Regions from separate parts of the Homo sapiens genome. Here all the other regions are linked to region 1. Evidence: promoter capture Hi-C in 16 types of primary human blood cells and fetal thymus (Javierre and others, 2016). All regions are on one chromosome and are shown on one strand. The core of a region is centred on a gene start or on the middle of the fragment in contact, and the rest is flanking DNA. Distances in the headings are between cores, read along the strand shown. Region 1 holds the start of UBE3D (ubiquitin protein ligase E3D). Region 2 overlaps ZNF292 (zinc finger protein 292). Region 3 holds the start of LCA5 (lebercilin LCA5).

What was found. The method cuts DNA at HindIII sites, captures the fragments that hold promoters and counts their contacts. A CHiCAGO score of 5 or more calls a contact.
Region 2: a fragment that was not itself captured here is called in contact with the fragment with the promoter of UBE3D in region 1 in 1 of 17 cell types (total CD4 T cells); the score reaches 7.3 in total CD4 T cells.
Region 3: a contact is called between the fragment with the promoter of LCA5 here and the fragment with the promoter of UBE3D in region 1, in 1 of 17 cell types (activated CD4 T cells). The highest score is 6.0, in activated CD4 T cells.

Annotation. Positions count from the first base shown.
Region 1 is chr6:83,064,447-83,067,182 of GRCh38, forward strand. UBE3D (ubiquitin protein ligase E3D) reads right to left here and starts at 1,395. Exons shown (of 10, transcript NM_198920.3): 1 at 1,196-1,395. The coding sequence starts at 1,272. The HindIII fragment of the contact is 10,412 bases long and covers 1,051-2,736 here.
Region 2 is chr6:87,156,326-87,159,061 of GRCh38, forward strand. All of the region lies in intron 1 of ZNF292 (zinc finger protein 292), which reads left to right. Among named protein-coding and RNA genes, the nearest start is that of ZNF292, 2.1 kb to the left of the region's middle. RefSeq lists an enhancer at 59-666. The HindIII fragment of the contact is 2,438 bases long and covers 109-2,546 here.
Region 3 is chr6:79,536,064-79,538,799 of GRCh38, forward strand. It overlaps LCA5 (lebercilin LCA5), which reads right to left and starts at 1,367. Exons shown (of 8, transcript NM_001122769.3): 1 at 1,102-1,367. It also overlaps a transcript of SH3BGRL2 not described here. RefSeq lists enhancers at 1,263-1,836, 1,831-1,880, 2,411-2,736. The HindIII fragment of the contact is 3,782 bases long and covers 1-2,325 here.

The DNA of each region.
Region 1 (2,736 bases), core at 145-2,644:
TGATCTCTTGACCTCGTGATCCGCCCGCCTCAGCCTCCCAATGTGCTGGGATTACAGGCATGAGCCACCCGGGTACCTTGCCTAAACAAAGGAGAGTAGTCCAAGGGAACTGTGAAAGGCCCCTGCATGAGAGGAAGGGAGGGTTTGTTGTGTGTGTGTGGTTTTTGTTTTATTTTGGTAGGGTTTGGGTTCCTAATTACTCTACAAGGTGCACCAGAATTGGAGATATTTGTCCAAATTCATAAATTTTGAAAGAGAAAAAGAAATACATTCAGAGTACTATTATTCCCATTTCAAGATTGAAGAAATTCAGATTAAATTATTCTAATTTCGTGAGGAAGCTAGCATTTGAACTCAGTTCTCACGCCATATTCCAAATTGCCACACCAGATATCTGGCAGATTTAGGGAAGAGGAAAAAATTAAGCATCAATCTACCTGTGGCACCGTGTAATACCATTCTCAGGATTTTAACTTCTAACTTACTCTCTTTGAAACAGCGATCACAAAGGAATAGACAAGGGGACCACAAATCATTAAAACTGCTGTCAAACAAAATAGAGAACATTTTTCCTAAAAGTTATTTGTGTAGCGAATAACAAGTTTGACGTTCTCACTGGAAGGAAGAATATGAATAAATGAACGAGCTCCAGTAAGAAGTCTACAACCTGTCTTAGTGGTTCACTAAACTCACGTTTATTGAATGATTGTGTGGTTTCTCTGCAAAGAGCAGTTTTGGACGAAAAGACCCGAGGTTATTTACAAAACAAGAAGCTCACATAGGAACTGATCCAGTAAGGAGGATCCCGAAGAGAGACAGACAAATCATTTTTTGCATTGTTTTGTTGGAAACGCCGGGCACTGCCAACAGTGTTTTACATCACTGTTCCTCAAATTTTAATGTGCATTTGATTCCTGGAAATCTTGTTAAAATATAAGTTTTGATTCCATAAGTCTGGTGTGGAGCTGAGACCCTGAATTTCTAAAAAGCTCCCCAAAGATACCCACACTGTCAGTAGGGGTGGGAGTGGCGGAGCCGACTACAGGGGAAAGCTTCACTTTGAGTGATCGAGAGGCTCTACGCAACTGGAAAGAAGAAACTCAAAATCCCTCGTACAGAGAGAGACTCACCAGCCCCCGACCCCCGGGCAGCAGTAAAGCGAGCTGGGCACTGCGCCTAGAATCCCAGTTCTTACCCCAGGATCAGAAGCGCGCTCTGCAGCTGTCCCCGCACCTCCAGAAACACGCGCGTCTCCGCCGCAGAAGCCGCCATGGCAGGCTTCCAGTCCCAGACCGGACCAAGCTGGAGGTTCCGAGGGGCCCGGGTCAACAGGACCAGGAGAGGTTCCACGTGCGGACCAACCAGCGGCAGCCCCGCTGCGGCGCAGGCGCCTGTGCCAGATCGCAGGGCTGGCGCCGCCTACCAGCTCACAGCGCCACCTGCCGGCCGGAGAGTGCACCACCGAGAAGGCGCGTGACCCCGGAGGCCGGGGCGGGGCGCGCATTTTCAAAACCAGGCTTTGGCCCAGAGTGCTGAGAAAGGTGGGCGGCGAGAGGCTAGCTATCGCCCCACTCTGCTTCTTATGAGCGTGACTTGGCGCGTTAGCATCCCTGGAAATGACCATAAAAATCAGACCCAGGGTTCACACCTTTGGCTAGCTCGAAGGGAGGGAGATGATGGAGGCAAGTGTTACAGGTGGGCTTTGTCCCCAGGAGATGCAAGAACAGAATTCCCGGCCCCAAACCCACTTTATCTTGGTCTCTTTATGAACAAGGGTCGTTTGTTAGCCTCTATCTAAAGCGACAAAATTTTCAAGAATTGACTTGCCATTGCTTCTCAACTTAGACAGGATAGCTCCAAAATTGAAACAGGTGCAAAAATATAAGGAAGTTCTTTGTTACCTAATGCAGAAGAGTGTGGCTGAAGTCTATCAGGACTAACCATTTTTTAGGGGGTAAAAAAGGAAGATGAGAATGATTACGTATGTACAGCTCCACTATTCACTTTCACAAAAGTAAAAACTAAGAGAAGTTGGAGAAGTTTACTACCAGAAGATAGTTTTGAAAAGTTTGACACAGTAAAGAACCTGGTATAATGTAAATACTTATAATGAAGAACTATTAAAATATAAGACCGGGTAGAATTACAATAGGGCTTCTTAAAAACAAGGAGCTGCTTTTATTTATTTATTTTTTTTCGGAGTCTCGCTCTGTCGCCAAGGCTGGAGTGCAGTGGCGCGATCTCGGCTCACTGCAACCTCTGCCTCCTGGGTTCAAGCGATTCTCCTGCTTCAGCCTCCCGAGTAGCTGGGATTACAGGCGCACGCGCCACCATGCCCGGCTAATTTTTCTGTTTTTGGTAGATCCGCCCACCTTGGCCTCCCAAAGTGCTGAGATTACAGGTGTGAGCCACCATGCCCAGCCTAAACCATAAATAAATTCTAAATAAATAAATCCTGTCATATATTTTAAGATAATAGCTTGACAATTTTTCTAAAATCAGTATTTGGGGTGATTAAAGTTTATTATGTTGATGCACAAATTATTATATCTATCACAATAATTTGAAGTTATAGATGGAAGCAACAACTCACTTAAAAAAATAAAGTTTACTATTATTTGGTCTCAAATAATTCATCTATTTGAAGGATGATGATTTCAACTCTTCATATCTTCCACCTTTAGTACCCGAGGCTATTGAATGCTTAAATATTGACACATTATATTGAAATATACA
Region 2 (2,736 bases), core at 78-2,577, 4.1 Mb after region 1:
TCCCCGCCGACCCCTTCTAGTTGAGCTAGACGTTCGGGAGGGGGTGCTTGGCGGAGGTTGTCCCCTCCTGCCCATACTTGCTTGCTTGGTGCATCACTTCTGTGGTAAAGCTTTATCTCCTTAGTGTAGAGGAGCTGTGCCTGTACATCTGTCTCAGGTTGAGTGTCCTTTTGGGGCGGTTTTTCCAGAGTCCGTTTCTCATTTGCTTTCGCCCTTCGAGGAGTATGATTTCCACTATCCTTTCTGTCCCGATCACCCCCTCACCCCTGTTTCTTGGAGTCCTTCCTATTTGGCTTCCTGATGAAGTGGGAGAAGACTGAGGTTCATGTGGATCTGTGCTTTGGGTAGTTTCAAATCTTTTCTTTGCTTGCCCAAGGGCACTGCTCACCAGTGACTGCATTCTAACCAGAATTTGGAATGTTAATAACACTGTTTGCTAGTGATGAAAATCATTTCATCCATGGTGAAAATCGGAGAGTTTGGGACTACATTTGCACTTCATTACGAGCCTTACACTTAGGTTTAAAATTTCAAGGTAGTGTTGCTGGCTCTGGTGAAGACTTTGATTTGATTGTCTTGAGGAGGAAAAAGAAGACACAATTTACACAGGTCATATTTAGAGTTAACTTGTGAGTGTATCATTACAGAGAATTCGTTTTGGAAAAATACTGATCTTAACGTAGAACAATGGTTGACCATTTTAGCTGAGTAGATTACATTTTCACTTATTTTTTAGCTTCCAAATATTGAAATATTTTCTTTATTATGTCGGGGATACGTGATCACATACAAAAGAATCTCCGTTGCTGTATGCACTTTATTGTCACAAATTATTTGATGGCTGTTCATAATCTTAAAAACAAAAACTGTGAGATCAAGTGGTGACGTCTAGGAGGATGTGCAATGTGAAAGCTCCCTACTTAGGTAAATAGGTCTGGTGAGTACCTGTGGCAAAATTAAAGTCTCATTCCTTTGAATTTTAATATTTAAAAATTGTTGAAATTTCTCAGTTTCTCTACTTTGCAGTACCCACTCATTCTTAATTGGTCTTTAAAGATTTATTTTAGAGATAAAAAAATTTCTCTAAGATACCCATAATAGGAAGTATTTCATTTGTAAGTCGAATCAGTTTTTATATAATAATCAGTGAAAACTATTAAAGTCTAGCTTTGCTGAAAGACATTTTCCCCTAATAGTGTCCACTGATAGTTTTAAGGCTAATTACTGTAAATTCTTTTTTTGTCAGCAGTATTTGTAAGCAGGATTAATAATTCTGGGAAAATAGAATCTCATGCAAGCTGGACTCCCCCCCGCTTTTTTGTGAGTGTGTGACGTTGTAAAGTTATCACTTAAAGATTTTTATTTATTTATTTATTTTTGAGATATGGAGTCTTGCTCTGTCACCCGGGCTGGAGTGCAGTGGTGCGATCTCAGCTCACTGCAGCCTCCATCTCCTGGGTTCAAGCGATTTTCCTGCCTCAGCTTCCCAAGTAACTGGGACTACAGGCGTGCGCCACCAAGCCCAGCTAATTTTTGTGTTTTTAGTAGAGATGAGGTTTGGGGTTTCACTGTATGTCGGCCAGGCTGGTCTCGAACTGCTGGTCTCGAACTGCTGACCTCAAGTGATCCACCCACCTCTGTTTCCCAAAGTGCTGGGATTACAGGTGTGAGCACCGCGTCCCGCCAGACTTGAGTTTTTTAATGAGTGAAACAGCATTTTAAAAATCAGAATGAAAGTAATTTCCTATATCAGTTTCATTAAGTGATTAGTCTTGCCACATAAATTGTTATTGATGCTACTGACAAAAAAACATCAAACACTAATGAAACAAATGCTGGATTTGTGGATTTCAAAAATTATAAAATATTTCATACACTGTAAGCTCAGAATAATTTAAATACACTTAAAAGTAATCTCCATTTGAAACGATACAGAGTGTGTCTGATTTCCTCTGGAACATTTTCTGGGGTGGGGTTTTTTGTTTTGTTTCTCAGGTAACCTATTTATGTTAGTGATCTTGTCAAGTGGAGGTAACTTGAAACAATTGTTTATTTATGTTTATTTACAGGGGTGGAGGTGGCTCACACCTGTAATCCCAGCAGTTTGGGAGGCCGAGTTGGGCGGATCGCTTGAGCCTGAGCAGCATGGCGTGGCCCCTTCTCTACAAAAAATACAAAAAACAAAACAAATCAAAAAAATTAGCCAGGCGCTGTGGCGAGTGCCTGTAGTCCCAGCTACTTACGAGGCTGAGGTGGGAGGATCATTTGAACCCGGGAGGCAGAGGTTGCAGTGAGCAGAGATGGTGCACTGTGCACACTCCAGCCCGGGTGACAGAGAAAGATCCTGTCTCAAAAAAATAAAAAATAAAAATAAAATTGTATCTTAGCAATTATCACCTAGCATTTTGATACGAAGTTGAGTGAAGCAATGGTTAACAATTAAAGAATTTATTGGCGCAATCTAAATATAGTACCAGGGATACTAGGAGCTAGAAATTATGTCTTAGTTTCTAACCTTGAGATTATTATTTAACTTTTTCTGTTTAAGCTTTTCCTGTAAAACTGGGATAGTCACACGCTTCAAGAAGGCAAAGATGAATAAACGTTTGTCAAAGTTAATGGGCTTCAGAATTAATATTCTGTCAGTGTTGATGCTCAGTGCTTGTGTAACCCTTAGTTTTGCATTTACTTTAAAAAATGAATTAGTTTACATTCTATGTAATTTTTATGAGCAAA
Region 3 (2,736 bases), core at 117-2,616, 3.5 Mb before region 1:
TATTTAAAATGATACTTTGTCAACTTAGAGAATCAAAACAAACTATTATTTCCTATAACTTATTTGGATAAACATACTAGCTAACATGGGAAATCACAAAGTGAAATATTTAAAATGGTAATATAGAATTTAAATGTGGAACAACTGGAAAAAAACATAGATTAAAATAACCATGCAAAAGAAAGAGGGAATGAGTAAAGAACTGGAAACATCGGTTTTACCATTCTAAAACACATATAGCCACTCCCTCTGCCAAAAACTAAATGATGACTTCTGATTGCAAAGATATCTCTAATGCAAGTTCTTAACGTGAAGATAAAGGAGGGGAATAAATATGTATGTGCCCAAGTATACTTTCCAAAGAACAAAGTGAACAAAAAAGGGGTTTATATCAGATGAACTGGACCAGGGCTCTTCACTGTTAAACACTATCCCACGGTCTATCTAACGTAAACATCACGTATCTGAGTACCGACTCCAACTCGAGTATGCCAAAAAGGCACTTTCTTTTTTCTTTTATTTCTAACCATCTTTACTCCTCTCATCCCATCCCTGAAGGATGTATAGAAGTATCACAGCCTGGACAAGTACGGCTTTCCACTCTAACCACAGTTTTAATAATAACACATCTATTATTATCCGAGAGCTACCAAAGCCTCCTTTTCCGTCTTGGCCCTTGGCCCTGCCCCTCCTCTCTAGTCTTGAGTCTCCACGGGCCTCCGGGGTTTTTGTTTTGTTTGTTTTAATAACAACCACTTCTCTAGATCCGCTTGCTCCCTTTCTTCTCTTCTCGGTCCCAGGAAGTAAATACCCTTTCCCAGCTCCTCTCCTCCTAACTTCCCAGTCCCCCCAGTGCCGGTCAACCTCCCTTCCTCGGGACCCTCTCAGAAGCCGAGCTCTTTACTCATTTTCCTAGGTCTTCCTTCTCCTCGCGGTCCCTACATCCTCCCCCATCCCTAATCCCTTCATCTTCCCTGCTTTAAGAACCACCCGCAGGCCCCCATCCACGAACGCCCCTTCACTAGCTACCAGACGCTTCAACCCAGCCTCACCTCGCACCTCCACCTCCCCCGCCGTCTCCACGCCCACTTCAAAGCCCACCTCCAACCCGCAGGCTCTTCAGCAGAGCCGATGCGGCGTCCCGCCTCCTTGCCTTCCCTCTTAGGACCAAACTCCCAGCTGGGGCCTCGGCGTCTGACCGCCAAAGAGCGGGTGCCTGGTTCCTGCGGAGGCTGCCGGGCGGGTGCCGAGGTTGCCGAGATGCGGGAGGTTTGAACACAAGGATGGGACAGAGGCGAGGATCGGGGCTCCTGGGTGGCAGCGGCGGTAACCTGGGCTCCAGGGTAACGGAGGCGGAGGCCTAGACTGCACTACGAAGAGACCGCAGCCAATCATGATGACTCTACCCGAGCTCCCATTGGCTTCTGTCTCCAGACGGCCCTTTTTATTGGCTTCAGTGGAACTGGAAGGCGGGACGGCGAGTGCGGGAGAAGGTCTCCATTGGCCGACCGCTCTAGCTGTAGCGGAGACCCCCAAGTAGGGAAATTGGGGCAAAACGCGGAGCGCTCCAGGCTCCTACGGGCTGTGCGGTGCCAGGGCTCGACTGCTGAGCGTCGTGGGCTCCGAGAGGGACGCGGGCGGAGGGCAAAGTGGGTTCATGATATGAATTGTAAAATTGGCGACTGCGTAATGTAAAACACTTAACAATTGCTTAGATTTCCTTTGGGAAATAACTTGCTTTTAAATTGTAAACAAATTACAAACAAACTGCTAGTGCTTCTGGATCTTCTTACCGAAATGGCTGATTCAGGAGGATGCGGGGTGAGTGCACTATTGTTCCTGCCTCGAGATCCTGGCTGTGAATCACCAACGAGCCGTGAGTTTGGCTTGAAAGTGATTTTTAGGTTTTGGAACGGGTTTGGGGTGGAATGGCATCTGAAATATTTGCACACAAGTTTTTTTTTTTTTTTTTTTTTTTTTTTTTTTTTTTTAAGGAACGTTTTGAGGAGCATGTCAGCCTATTGAGCGCTGATGTGTGACATATTTTCTCTTTTAGAAATGGCATTAATTGCGGGAGACAGGGAAGGTAAAAAAAAATCCTCTTTCGTGAGGGCTTTAAACTGCTCCGAGCCATCTGATTATCAAGGTGGTTTAACACTACTCTGGTGTTCTCACTATTGTTAATTTCTCACTGGCCTTTTTACCACCATTCTGTAGAGAATCTAATATTTGAAGGCAAATGCGTTTAATGAATCTTCTAACCATGAAGATTGGTAATTCCTGCTTCTCGCTCAACCTCGTTTTTCCACCTTTGCACTGTTTCAAAGCTTTCATTTTATCCTGTCAATACATTTTACTTCAAGTTACAGACTAACCCACCCAAACAATATTGTGATTAAATGTAATTTTCTGTATGCGAAATACATCTGTACAAGATGGCAGTCATCTGTTAGTGAAAATAAGATGAGTAATCCCTAAATTGCACGGAATTACTTTTCATCAATTCTTTAATCTGTCTCTGCTGACACTGTTAAAATAGCTCACTCGTTATTATGGACTCTGTTAGAATTAACATGTAAATGTATGGGTGGATTACTTATAAAGGAAGTTGCTAGGAAGAATCAGAAAACATACCGTATTTACGTGGACAAATGTCTGTCACAGGAGCGTCAGATCAGGATTGCTGAAGGAGAGCTGAGAATGAAACCACCATTTATTCAGCACTCAGAATGCTCC